5 separate regions of the Homo sapiens genome follow, and regions 2, 3, 4 and 5 are each linked to region 1. Evidence: promoter capture Hi-C in 16 types of primary human blood cells and fetal thymus (Javierre and others, 2016). All regions are on one chromosome and are shown on one strand. The core of a region is centred on a gene start or on the middle of the fragment in contact, and the rest is flanking DNA. Distances in the headings are between cores, read along the strand shown.

Region 1 (2,708 bases), core at 111-2,610:
TAAACATCAGTAACTGTTAAGAGCATTCCTTCCTGCTTGGTCCCTATTAAAGAACCAGATCCCTTCTCCATAGAGTATTCCAATTTGCAAAGAAAATCCATTCATTAGTTGTCCAATTTAAATGTTTTAGAAATATTCAGTGGAACTTTCATCAATAACCCCCAAACAGATACCTCAAGAACCCCTTTTTCTAATCATTTAATCATACTACTTACTGAGAAAAATTATTATAGGAAAGGCAGTATTTGATATTGGGACATAAAAAGAATGAAAAATCTGTTAAATAAGCAAAAGCCCATTAGCCTGAGGCTGTCTTGGTACTTGAGTTCCCATATAACAAAATACAACCTGACTTAGTATGTAAACGAACTGAAGCCTAACTTACTTTATTTTTTATAACAGCTGGGTTTCAGCCAATCACGGCCGAGCTTCAGCAAATAACAGACAGCCAACTGATCAGACCATGCCCCAATAAGGCAAATGCCTCATCATATCATTGTCAAATAAGGCAGACACCTAGATGTTAGCTAATGAGGTGATTTCTCTACTTTGCTTCCTATAAAAGCTAGCAGGTCATACTGCTGGACAGAGCTCTCTGAACCTCTTTTGGTTCTGAGTGCTGCCCAATTCATGAACTGTTCTTTGTGCAAATAGCTTCTATTAAATTTGTCAGTCCAGAGTTTTTTTTGTTTTAAACAAATATTCACAAGAAAAGGAAGAAAGTGGGAAGAATAAAAAGCAAAGCACCTCAGAAACACAAGATCGAAAATCCACTTAAGGGATATAGATAATTCCCTGAAACAGGTGAGCATATTATTTGTTGAAAGCCTCCATGGATGTTCTTTGGGATAGCAAAATGGTTGCTACTTTTCAAATTGGATACCAAAAAGGCAATGTATCTGCATCTCAGAATCCAAATCATCCCCACGTTAGCCAAACTCCAGGCCTACCAACACAGATCCTTCAAGTCTTCCTGGCCTTCCAGGCCCCTAGGCTGCAGCTCGCCCAGAACTCCTGGGACTCTAAAACTTAAATCGGTCTAACCAGCAGGCGAACACAGACCTGAACCCTCAAACTTGGAAAGAAAGATCATAGGCACCTCCCCGGTTGGCTCCCCCAGGGACCACAACGTCCGGCTCTAACGCCTTGCCCAAGTCCTCTGTAGCTTTCCACAGGCATTTCTGGGTCTCTATAGCTGTTTGGAGGAGCCACTCACCGGTCCCGTCCTGCCCCGCGCCTAGGCCTGAACCAACCCCCTCGCGGTTCCGGCGCGGATACCCAGCAGCTTCCGGTCTTGCGCGCTCAGGCCGGGCAACGTCCGTGCGTTCTTTTTGGGTCCTGAACCCCGGAAGAGAAACTGCGTTGTACCCTTTTACGTGAGGCGGTGACGGCGGTTCGGAAGTCGTCTGGCCTCCCCGCGGCCGCTCGCAGCTTGCTGGCCTCTCCCGCGCCTCACGTCGGACTCCGTCTCCGCGGCAGGGAAGCAGCATGGAAGCTGAGGACATCCAGGAGGAGTTGACCTGCCCCATCTGCCTGGACTATTTCCAGGACCCGGTGTCCATCGAGTGCGGCCACAACTTCTGCCGCGGCTGCCTGCACCGCAACTGGGCGCCGGGCGGCGGCCCGTTCCCCTGCCCCGAATGTCGGCACCCATCGGCGCCCGCCGCGCTGCGACCCAACTGGGCCCTGGCCAGGCTGACTGAGAAGACGCAGCGCCGGCGCCTGGGCCCCGTGCCCCCGGGCCTGTGCGGCCGCCACTGGGAGCCGCTGCGGCTCTTCTGCGAGGACGACCAGCGGCCAGTGTGCCTGGTGTGCAGGGAGTCCCAGGAGCACCAGACTCACGCCATGGCACCCATCGACGAGGCCTTCGAGAGCTACCGGGTGAGCTGGCCGTCGCGGTGACTATGACGGGGCTGTCAGTGTTGCCCGATAAAGTTTACTTAATGCTCCTAAAAGAGCCACGAAGTGGCTGTCATTCCTACTGGAAGCATGAAAAGCCCCTGAAACTCAAAGAAGTTAAGCAAAACACGAATTTCAGAGCTAGGGTTAAAACTGGAATGAGAGGAGGGGAGGTGCAAACCTCAGCAATCATTGTGCAGAATTTTCAATAAACTGGCCCTTGGGGAGCTCATAATAAAGAAAAACATACTGAGAGGGTGTGTGCCGCTGCTGTCCAATAGAAACCACATATGTAATTTAAAATCTTTCTGGTAAGATAAGGAAACGAGGTGACGTTAATTGTAATAATATATTTTATTTAATCTGATTACCCCAAATATTCAAAGCTGAGATGAAAATTATCAATGAGATTTTTTTTTTTTTTCTGAGATGGAGTCTCACTTTATTGCCCAGGCTGGAGCACAGTGGCGTGATCTTGGCTCACTGCAACCTCCTCCTCCGGGGTTCAAGCAGTTCTCCTGCCTCAGCCTCCCGAGTAGCTGGGATTACAGGCACACGCCACCACACCCGGTTAATTTTTGTTTTTTAGTATAGAGGGGTTTCACCATCTTGGCCAGGCTGGTCTCGAACTGCTGACCTCAAGTGATCTGCCCCGCTTGGCCTCCCATAGTGCTGGGATTAAGGTGTGAGTCACCACGCCCGGCCTCAATGAGATATTTTATACTCCTTTTTCATAATAGGTCTGAAATTGGTGTGTATTTTACATTTACAACACATAGCAGTTTGGAATATCCACGTTTCAGGTGCTT
Region 2 (2,708 bases), core at 59-2,558, 400 kb after region 1:
GGCTGCTTGAGAGGATAAGGCATGATAATCGCTTGAACCTAGGATGCAGAAGTTGCAATGAGCCAAGATTGCACCACTGCACTCCAGCCTGGGCAACAGAGTCAGCCACTGTCTCAGAAAAAAAAAAAAAAAAAAAATACTGGGCGTGGTGGCTCACGCCTGTAATCCTAGTACTTTGGGAGGCCGAGGCAGGAGGATCACAAGGTCAGCAGTTCGAGACCAGCCCGGCCTGTATGGTGAAACCCCACCTCTACTAAAAATACAAAAATTAGCCGGGTGTGGTGGCAGGTGCCTGTAGTCCCAGCTACTCAAGAGGCTGAGGCAGGAGAATTGCTTGAACCTGGGAGGTGGAGGTTACAGTGAGCCAAGATCGTGCCACTGCACTCCAGCCTGGGTGACAGAGCAAGACTCCGTCTCAAAAAAAAAAAAAAGGTGGGGGCCAGGTACGGTGGCTCACGCCTGTAATCCTAGCACTTTGGGAGGCCGAGGCAGGCAGATCACAAGGTCAGGAGTTAGAGACCAGCCTGGCCAATATGGTGAAACCTCATCTCTACTAAAAATGCAAAAATTAGCTGGGCATGGTGGCGGGCGCCTGTAGTCCCAGCTGCTCAGGAGACTGAGGCAGGAGAATCACTTGAACCCAGGAGGCGGAGGTTGCAATGAGCCGAGATCACACCACTGCACTCCAGCCTGGGTGACAGAGCAAGACTCCCTCTCAAAAAAAAAAAAAAAAAAAAAAAGGATGCATTCTGCTTTGCCAAGATCAAATTTTATTATCTCAAAGAACCACCAAATTCCCACATCTTCCATGAAACTGAAGCATTCCTAACAGTCCAGGGCTGCTCGAGCTTTAATGTACAAATAAATCACCTACATCCCCTAGGGGATCTTGGTACTTGCAGATTCTGACTCAAAAGGCCTGGGGTGAGGCCTGAGAGTTTGCATTTCTTTTTCATTTTTTAATTTAATTAAAAAAAATTTTTTTTTTTGGAGACAGAGTCTCGCTCTGTGGCCCAGGCTAGAGTGCAGTGGCGCGATCTCAGCTCACTGCAACCTCCGCCTCCTGGGTTCAAGCAATTCTCCTGCCTCAGCCTCCCGAGTAGCTAGGATTACAGGTGTGCACCACCAAGCTTGGCTAATTTTTGTAGTTTTAGTAGTGACAGGGTGTCACCACGTTGTCCAGGATCGTCTCAAACTCCGGTGATTCACCTGCAATGGCCTCCCAAAGTGCTGGGATTACAGGTGTGAGCCACTGTGCCTGGCCCCTAGTTTGCACTTCTAATAAGCTCCCAGGTAATGCCAGTGCCACGGCTTCCTGGACCACTCTTGGATTACCACAGCCTCAGAAATCCCTTCCAGAATTTCCATGGTTAGTTTCTATTCAGTCAAGAAATATGTATTAAATCTATTCTCTCTCTCTCTGCCCATCTCAGGAATAGACAAAACAATTCTTACCTTGGAAAAGTACTGTCTAATGCAAGCTTGCCCAACCCACGGCCCGTGGCCCAGGATGGCTTTGAATGTGCCCCAACACAAATTTGTAAACTTTCTTTTTTTTTTTTTTGAGACAAGGTCTCACTCTGTCACCCAGGCTGGAGTACAGTGGTGCAATCTCAGCTCACTGCAACCTCCGCCTCCCAGGTTCAAGTGATTCTCCTGCCTCAGCCTCCCAAGTAGCTGGGATTACAGGCGCCCACCACCACACCCGGCTAATTTTGTTTTGTTTTTTTGAGATGGAGTCTCGCTCTGTTGCCCAGGCTGAAGTGTAGTGATACAATCTTGGCCAACTGCAACCTCCGCCTCCCAGGTTCAAGAGAGTCTCCTGCCTCAGCTTCCTGAGTAGCTGGGATTACAGGCATGTGCCACCATGCCTGACTAATTTTTGTATTTTTAGTAGAGACGGGATTTCGCCATGTTGGCCAGGCTGGTCTTGAACTCCTGGTCTCAACTGATCCACCTGGTTCGGCCTCCTAAAGTGCTGGGATTACAGGTGTGAGCCACCATGCCTGGCCCACAAATTTGTAAAGTTTCTTAAAACATTATGAAGGGCCAGGCACAGTGGCTCACGCCTGTAATCCCAGCACTTTGGGAGGCTGATGAGGGTGGATCACCCGAGGCTGGGAGTACAAGACCAGCCTGACCAACGTGGAGAAACCCCATCTCTACTAAAAATACAAAATTAGCTGAGTGTGTGGCACATGCCTATAATCCCAGCTACTTGGGAGACTGAAGCAGAAGAATCGCTTGAACCTGGGAGGCAGAGGTTGCGCTGAACTGAGATCACGCCATTGCACTCCAGCCTGGGTAACAAGAGCAAAACTCCATCTCAAAGAAATAAACATGAGGGGTTTTTTTGCAATTTTTATTTTGTTTAAGCTCATCAGCTATGGTTAGTGTTTGTGTATTTTATGTGTGGCACAAGACAATTCTTCTTCCAGTGTGGCCCAGGAAAGCCAAAAGATTGGACACCCCTTGGTCTAATGGGAAGGGCACACAGGTAAGCCTTACAGCACAGCGTGAAGAGTGCCATGACGAAAGGTGACCCAAGTTCCCGTGGGACCATAGAGGCAGGAGCACTTACAGAGTGGAGCAGGAGACGCAGCAGCAGCAGCAAAGCCTTTTCCCAGAAAGTGACTCTGGGCAGTAGGAATGGAGATCGGGGAGACAGGGTGCTTTCCCCACAGCAGGAACAGCATGCGCAACACCCG
Region 3 (2,708 bases), core at 153-2,652, 380 kb after region 1:
GTAGAGAATGTATATCATCAAAGCAAAAGGGAAAAAAATAAGGCCGGGCGTGGTGGCTCATGCCTGTAATTCCAGCACTTTGGGCAGCTGAGGCAGGTGGATCACCTGAGGTCAGGAGTTCAAGACCAGCCTGGCAAACATGGTGAAACCCCATCTCTACCAAAAAATACAAAAATTAGCTGGGCGTGGTGATGGGTGCCTATAGTCCCAGCTACTCGGGAGGCTGAGGCAGGAGAATTGCTTGAACCCAGGAAGTGGAGATTGCAGTGAGCTGAGATCATGCCACTGCACTCCAGCCTGGGGGACAGAGTGAGACCCTGTCTCAAAAAACAGGAAAAAAGGTAATTTTCTTCCCTCTTTTTTATTATTACTTTGAGCTGCCAAAGTACTTTTTTTTTCTTTTTGCCTACTTTCTCATTTGTAGTGCAGACTCTGTAAACCTGCCTTTTCCCCACTCTCTAACATGCCATCCATGCCTGGTAATGCTTTGGTGTTCTCTTACTTTAGGTATGATTGTTTTCACTACCCCCAGTGCTCCTAATGCAATTCCCCTCAGCCAGTTTTTCCTCTATGTCCCTTCTTTTGGAATTTTCAGATAGCCCTAGTGGGTCCACAGACATTCTGAGATTGTGCATCAGACTCAAAATATGGACTTTTCTGGGGGAAAGGCCAGTGGATTTCAACAGAGTCTAAGAAGGCTACCTTATCCCCAAAATGTTAAGACCAATTGCTTTAGGAAGTCTTTAATGTTCTTATGGGTTTTTCTTCCTAAAGAGACAGCAGTGCCAGGTGTTAGCAGCTCATGCCTGTAGTCCCAACACTTTGGGAGGCCGAAGTGGGCTGAAGTCAGAGGATCGCTTGATCTGTTGCCCAGGAGTTTGAGATGAGCCTAGGCAACATGGCAAAACCCCATCTCTACGAAAATGCAAAAATCAGCCAGGCACGATGGTGTGCGCCTATGGACCCAGCTACTCAGGAGGCTGAGGTGGAAGGATTGCTTGAGGTCAGGAGTTAAGAGACCAGCCAGGGCAACATGTGAGAGCCCGTCTCCTCACACAAAAAAATTAAAAATGATGGTGAGCACCAAGAATGATGGTGAGCACCTGTAGTCCCTGCTGCTCAGGAGGTCAAGGTGGGAGGATCACTTGAGCCCAGGAAGTCGAGGGTATAGTGAACCATAGTCACACCATTGCACTCCAGCCTGGGTGACAGTGTGAGACTCTGTCTTAACAACAACAACAAAAAAAGCAGATTTTAATCATTTCCCCCTTTTTCACTTTTAACAAATGGAAATAACTCAATGTAAAAATTAACTGTTTCATATTCCAATTGATCGCCTTAGAGCTATACTGTTCCATCGGTGTCAGGTTCACGACTACGCCAACTGTCATGCCCAGGGTCAGGTTCCAACTCATGCTGAGGTCCAAAGGGAGTGAGTGGATGAGCAGATAGCTGAAAACACTCAGGGGGCCGTAGGCAGGTGAAATGTAGTTTTATTTAGCAGCTCTCATCAGCAGCTCACTTACACTAGTTCTCTTATACTGTCCGCCTTGTCTCGGCTGCTTAGTCAGGTGGCTCCCACACACAGCTGTGCGGCTGGCTCTTCAATACCAGCTACTTAGGAGGCTGAGGCAGGAGAATCGCTTGAACTCAGGAGGCAGAGGTTGCAGTGAGCCGAGATCGCACCACTGCACTCCAGCCTGGGCGAGAGAGTAAGACTCCACCTCAAAAAAAAAAAAAAATCCTTAATTTGCTAATATTCACAAAGGAGAATACACTTGTGCATTCATTTCCCAGGTCTGCTGTAACAAAGTACCACAAACTGGGTGGTTTAAAACAATAAAAATGTATTGTCTCTCAGTACTGGAGTTTAGAAGTCAGAAACTAAGGTGTCAGCAGGTCTATCCCTGAAACTTGCAAGGGAAACCTTGGCTCTTCATAGCTTCTGGTGGTTTGCTGGCAATCTTTGGCATTCCTTGGCTTGCAGCTGCATAACCCCAGTCTCTGCCCTTGCCATCACGTGACCTTCTCTCTTGTGTGCCTGTGTCCACACAGTCAGCTTCTCATAAGGACATCAGTCACTGGATTAGGGGCTCATCCCATCCCAGTAAGATCTTGTCTTTTTTTTTTTTTTTTTTTGAGACAGAATCTCACTCTGTTGCCCAGGCTGGAGTGCAGTGGCGCGATCTCAGCTCGCTGCAACCTCCGCCTCCCAGGTTCAAGCGATTCTCCCTGCCTCAGCCTCCAGAGTAGCTGGGTTCAAGCGATTCTCCCTGCCTCAGCCTCCAGAGTAGCTGGGATTACAGGCGCCCGCCACGCCCAGCTAAGTTTTGTATTTTTAGTAGAGTCGCGGTTTCACCATATTGGCCAGGCTGGTCTCGAACTCCTGAACTCAAGTGATCCACCTGCCTCGGCCTCCCAAAGTGCTGGGATTACAGGTATGAGCCACCATGCCCGACCGAGACCTTGTCTTAACTAATTATATCTGCTATGGTTCTATCTCCAATAAGGTCACATTCTGAGGTACTAGGGGCTGGGACTTCAATAATTCCTTCTGGCTGGGGAGAAGTGGAGAACACAGTTTATGACAACTTGTAATTTGCACCTATCTAATCACACCAAACAGATCTGAAAGAGTTGTCAAAAAGAGGCTAATATCCTGATAAGGGACGGCCAATATGAATTTATACGAAACATGGTAAGAAGGG
Region 4 (2,708 bases), core at 120-2,619, 340 kb after region 1:
GGCTAATTTTGTATTTTTAGTAGAGACGGGGTTTCACCATGTTGGCCAGGCTGGTCTTGAACTCCTGACCTTGTGATCCACCCGCTTCAGCCTCCCAAAGTGCTGGGATTACAGGCGTGGGCCACCACACCCAGCCATAGCTAACAGTTTTCTAAAAACAGAGAGTAAATAGGAAGTGTCCACAAAATAAAGCTTTAAATGTATGTAGTTTCTTTATTTGTAAAGGGTGCCATTTGTTTGAAATCGTTCTTACACTCTTGGATTAAAACACCGGTTCCTTCACACACTTGTATTTTGAAGGGAATATAAAATGTGATTCCCTCACACCTGTAATCCCAGCACTTTGGGAGGCTGACGCGGGTGGATTACCTGAGGTCAGAAGTTTGAGACAAGCCTGGCCAACATGGTGAAACTCCGTCCCTACAAAAAATACAAAAATTAGCCAGGTGTGATGGCAGGTGCCTGTAGTCCCAGCTACTCAGGAGGCTGAGGCAGGAAATACTTAAACCTGGGAGGCAGAGGTTGCACTGAGCCAAGATCACATCACTGCACTCCACCCTGGGCGAGAGAGCAAGATTCTGTTTGAAAAAAAAGAAGAAAAAAGTGGTTTCATATGATACAAATGTTAGAAAAAGGACAGATGTCAGTTTGCTGACTCCAGCAGAGTTACCTTTCGGGTGCTAGTTCCCACCACAGCCCAGGATGCCAATGTTTTCTCTAGTTACATGTTAAGATCTCCAAATCCAGGGCATCCCTCCTGAAACAATGCCAGTCCTACACTGCTAAATGTTTACTGAATGAATGGATGAATGAAGGCAACATTTTTAGATGTGGGAATCCTATAGTGCTTGGTTCTCTAATCCCTAGGGGCCTCCTTTGAACTTGGTTCTTCAACCTCCTCAGTTGCCCACATACTACATCCTACAGTGAGGCATTTCTCCATACCTCACTTATTACCTGGAAAGTGCCATACTCTCACATGCAGGCCTTGACATGCTAGCTCTTTTGCTAAAACTCTCCGTGCCCCTCTCCCCGTGTTCCCCACCTGTCATCTACTTCTATCCACCCTTTTGCTCAGGCCAAAAACCTAGGAATTTTCCCATTACCACTTTGCTCCACTGCTATAACCAGAGGTGATAGTGACTCTTAGCAAGGATACATGCCCACCAGCAAGTTCTGGTTATCAGAAAAATATTAAGAGTAAATTTGGTCACGGTGTAATGGAAATGCAAATCTAGTGATGGCAGCAGCGGTATCTTGACAGGACATATGAAATTTGAGAGCTTTGACCTGTGACCTGCCATTGTCAAAACTGTCCAACCCTGTTTCAGAGCAGGGGTTTGACTAGCTCCCTAAAAAAATCTCAGGATATTCTCTCCTAGTATCCCAGAGAGCTCTCGGAGCACTTGAGATCAGTTGCAAACTAATGACAGTGAGTCATCAGCGATGTACTAGGGAATGAAGAGCTATCAAACTTCTCTGGGTTTTGAGATCTGTGTAATACCAACATCACTTTGGGGTATATTGTTGTTTTTTGTTTTTTTGTGTTTTCTTGAGACAGAGTCTCACTCCGGAGTGCAGTGGCACAATCTCGGCTCATTGCAACCTCTGCCTCCCAGGCTCAAGCTATTGTTGCGCCTCAGCCTCCCAGGTAGCTGGAATTATAGGCACGCAACACCATGCCTGGCTAATTTTTCTATTTTAAGTAGAGACTGGGTTTCGCCACATTGGCCAGGCTGGTCTCCAACTCCTGACCTCAAGTGATCTGCCCGCCTCAGCCTCCCAAAGTGTTGAGATTACAGGCGTGAGCCACTGCACCTGGCCTGGGGTATGTTTACTAAAATATTCCTTTGTAAAATGAAGCTAGCTGCTTTGCAGAATTGAGAATAAAGTTTAGATATGTACAAACATACGTGTGTGTAGGTAGGTGGAAAGACAGAAGATAAAAGTGCCCTCTACTATCGTATTTCTCTTCTCTCCCCTTTCAAGACCAAAATGACTCAGAACACAAACTCATGTATCAGGCCAATTAAATATCTGCTTAAAGGATTGCCCTAAAGGACTATTTTGAGTCCGCCTTTTTTAAAGTGTTTTACTTATTTAAAAAATATGGCTGGGCACAGCGGCTCACGCCTGTAATCCCAGCACTTTGGGAGGCTGAGGCAGGCAGATTACCTGAGGTCAGGAGTTTGAGACCAGCCTGGCCAACACAGTGAAACCCGGTCTCTACTAAAAATACAAAAATCAGCCAGGCAAGGTGGCAGGTGCCTGTAATCCCAGCTACTTGGGAGGCTGACACAAGACAATCGTTTGAACCCAGGAGGCGGAGGTTGCAGTGAGCCGAGATCACGCTACTGCACTCCAGCCTGGGTGACAGAACGAGACTGTCTCAAAAAACAAACAAACAAACAAAAAGTTATTCCTAGTTCTACTGAAACCTCGAACTATTTAGTCTTATTTTATATACCAACAACTTCCCAATCAAATCCCCTTTAAGTCCCAAACATTCAGCTTTTGTTCCAGAGGTCTGTGGAAAAGCAAGCTTTGTTATCAATGCAAAGGAAAGTGATCCATTCTTGCTGTGAAGCAAGTTCCAGGGAGGAAAGGAGTTGCAGCCAGAGATGTGATTCCAACATTCCCAAACGCTTCTGTCTGAGACCTTCAGATTTTGTTTGAAACAAATTCTCAGAATACCAAACACACCTTTA
Region 5 (2,708 bases), core at 130-2,629, 280 kb after region 1:
GGCACTTGCATCAGGAGTGTCTGCAGTGAAGGTCTCACGTCTGACCCTCCTGACCTCCTGAGCTGACCTCAACCTGTCCCACTATGTGTTCTCTTTTTTCAAAAAAAGAAAGGTCTGTTACATACATGGAAAGGAAAGAAAGGAGACCAGATCTGGCATTGCTTTTCTGTGAGTGAAGAACATGCAGGAAATCGGCTATCATAATCCCTAGGAATGTGCTTCTCCACTCATTGACTTGGGAAAGGAAACAAATGAAGAAAGGCCTCATAAAAATGAGTTCATGTGGGAGGAATTATATGCAGCTTCCTATCAATTACAGTAATAGGCTGCAAAGGGCGTGGCGGAGGAAAAAGAATTACTCAGAGGGTCACAACAACTGCCTTCTAGTCCAAGTCCCTCTCATTTACCAAAGACACCATGCTTTTAGTCCCCCTCATGCTGTTCAGGCAGCCCAACTTGCCCATTTCTATCTACAAAATTCCACTTGTCCTTCAAGGCTCAGATCAAATATCATGTTCTTCATGAAGCCTCCAGTGCCCTAGGCCAGGAGAGGGTCTTCTTTCCCCTCCAGAGTTCTCCAGAATGCAAATTCTGTGACAGTCCTTTTCATGCTCTGCTTGGCATCAGTCAAGTGCACCCCAAATGCTACCCCAAACAGGACTGTTTGTTCTTAAGTTGTATAAAAGATCCTGTTTATCCAAATAACCCCATCCACAGAAGAATCTATCACAGCACCTGGTGTAAAACAATGACTCAGTACAAGTGTGCTGCTATAGCTAATGATGGTGACGGTGACAATGATGACAAGGACGATGACAGCAAACACTGGAGAAAGAACACTGATGACCATCTCCAAGAGATTTTGCCTTAACCCATTCCCTTTGTCTCCTTGATCCTGATCCCATCCAAAGAAAAAGAATTAAGTGTGTGCTTGTCAGAGCCCCAGGATCTCACTGGCCCCTATTTTATGAAGGGTGGTGTGCCTCACAGGGTCAGCATCTGAGATGAAGCTTCCTTCCTTTTTGCCTGGCCCTGAACAGTCTTCTGCTTGTGCATCTCTTGGAATTCCCATTTGGTCTCCAATCTCCCTCCTGCACAGTGTGCCTGAACCCACAGGTCTTCAACTCAGATGTGGGGCTGAGAGGGGGGAGCAATGCAAGCCTACACGATCTCACAACTCCCTTCCCCAGTGACCTCTATGATGCAGGTTACTGGGTGCAGCTCAGATACTACTACAGTGGGACTGAGAGCCCCATCTGCTGTTGCTCCTTGGGCCATCGGGGTTGGGATGATTGGCAGGGCAAGAATCAGCCTTTCCTGGGTCTCTGGCCATAAAACCACAAAAAACTCAACAGAATCTCACCTCAAGACTGTGAAAATGACATGAAGAGTTGACATCACTATGAAGAAATGTTCAATATGCATTTGCTGTAATGGTGAAGAATATAATGATTTGGCCCCATGGAAAAAAAAATGAACATGAAAAAAAAAGGGGGGGCAGCAATGGGTAAACATGAAAGACCTTCACCTAACCTTGCTCTATGCTGGTTTGTAAGGAGACTTTCCGGCTCACAGGCTTCTAAAGTCCAATGGAGTACATAGGGTAAGATGATTCTTCTCTTATGGCAAACGCCTTTCTAGATGGGCACCGGTCTTGGCCTGCAGGCTGCTTGCTTAGGGGTATGGGGAGAGAAACATTCCCTTTCTCATCCTGCACATAATGCAACCATAAAAGGTTCAGAAGCTTAGTCACTCTTACAGACTTGGAAGTGTAAACTCGATCCTATAAACACCAGAATTTTTATTTCTACTTCAAAAATAAATTGCTTTTTTGAAAAAAAGAAAAAATAACTTCATTACCTACATTAAAAAATCATTATTAAGGACCACTAATGGGGAAGTAAAAGTATCCTCAAGAATAATGAGAATAATAATAATATCTCCTATGTGGTCCTTTCCAAGTTCCACAATACTTTCACGCCCATACTGTCTCTGTTCAACTTGGATGCCTTCTTCACATCACAGACCACAGGTACATCCATTTAACAAAACAATCTGAGCTTGAGTGACTAGTATGTACCAAGCACCATTCTAGGTAGTGGGGGAAATATCAGCAAAAAAAGCAAAGTTTCTACTTTCACACAGCTGAAGTTCCAGGGCATGTGGTAGAACAGGAAACAAAAACAAATTTATAATACGTCAGATAATGGTAAGGGCTACAAAGAAAAATAAATCTACGTAAGAAAATAGAGACTGATGGGGAGTGCTACTGTAGAAGGGTTGTGTTCCAATTATCTATTGCTATGTAATTAAACCACTCATACTTAGTGGCTAAAAACAATAGCATGCATTTATTTTCGTTCATATTTCTGGGGGTGACTAGGCTGAGCTTGGCAGTTTCCCTGTAGGGTCTCTCACATGGTTCCAGTCAAACAGGGACTGGAGCTGGAGTCATCTGGAGGGTTCCTTCTCACCTGACTGATGGTTGGTGCTAGGTGTCCACTATGACCACAGTGAGGACTATTGCTGGAATACCTCTGTGCAGCCTGTCAATGTGGTGGAGGTTCCTCCCAGCATTGCAGCTCTGTTCCAAGGGCAAGCATCCCACCTATCACCTCTTATGACTAAGCATCACTGCCTTCACATTTAATTTGTTAGAAGTGAGTCACTTTGGTCAGTTTCAAGAGGAGAGGAACTGGACTCTAACT

The links. The method cuts DNA at HindIII sites, captures the fragments that hold promoters and counts their contacts. A CHiCAGO score of 5 or more calls a contact.
Region 2: a fragment that was not itself captured here is called in contact with the fragment with the promoter of TRIM4 in region 1 in 1 of 17 cell types (erythroblasts); the score reaches 5.2 in erythroblasts.
Region 3: a contact is called between a fragment that was not itself captured here and the fragment with the promoter of TRIM4 in region 1, in 1 of 17 cell types (erythroblasts). The highest score is 5.1, in erythroblasts.
Region 4: a contact is called between a fragment that was not itself captured here and the fragment with the promoter of TRIM4 in region 1, in 1 of 17 cell types (erythroblasts). The highest score is 5.3, in erythroblasts.
Region 5: a contact is called between a fragment that was not itself captured here and the fragment with the promoter of TRIM4 in region 1, in 1 of 17 cell types (erythroblasts). The highest score is 5.3, in erythroblasts.

Annotation. Positions count from the first base shown.
Region 1 is chr7:99,918,182-99,920,889 of GRCh38, reverse strand. TRIM4 (tripartite motif containing 4) reads left to right here and starts at 1,360. Exons shown (of 6, transcript NM_033091.3): 1 at 1,360-1,881. The coding sequence starts at 1,489. LOC101927610 (a long non-coding RNA gene) reads right to left here and starts at 1,287. Exons shown (of 2, transcript XR_001745296.3): 1 at 1,063-1,287. RefSeq lists enhancers at 989-1,098, 1,339-1,418, 1,449-1,498 and a silencer at 1,629-1,788. The HindIII fragment of the contact is 3,942 bases long and covers 1-2,708 here.
Region 2 is chr7:99,516,703-99,519,410 of GRCh38, reverse strand. All of the region lies in intron 3 of ZKSCAN5 (zinc finger with KRAB and SCAN domains 5), which reads right to left. Among named protein-coding and RNA genes, the nearest start is that of ZKSCAN5, 13 kb to the right of the region's middle. The HindIII fragment of the contact is 351 bases long and covers 1,133-1,483 here.
Region 3 is chr7:99,536,608-99,539,315 of GRCh38, reverse strand. No RefSeq gene overlaps it. Among named protein-coding and RNA genes, the nearest start is that of FAM200A, 14 kb to the left of the region's middle. The HindIII fragment of the contact is 5,686 bases long and covers 1-2,708 here.
Region 4 is chr7:99,576,428-99,579,135 of GRCh38, reverse strand. It overlaps ZNF655 (zinc finger protein 655), which reads right to left. Exons shown (of 3, transcript NM_138494.3): 3 at 2,683-2,708. Among named protein-coding and RNA genes, the nearest start is that of ZNF655, 19 kb to the right of the region's middle. The HindIII fragment of the contact is 2,350 bases long and covers 195-2,544 here.
Region 5 is chr7:99,642,213-99,644,920 of GRCh38, reverse strand. It overlaps a transcript of ZSCAN25 not described here. Among named protein-coding and RNA genes, the nearest start is that of ZSCAN25, 27 kb to the right of the region's middle. The HindIII fragment of the contact is 734 bases long and covers 1,013-1,746 here.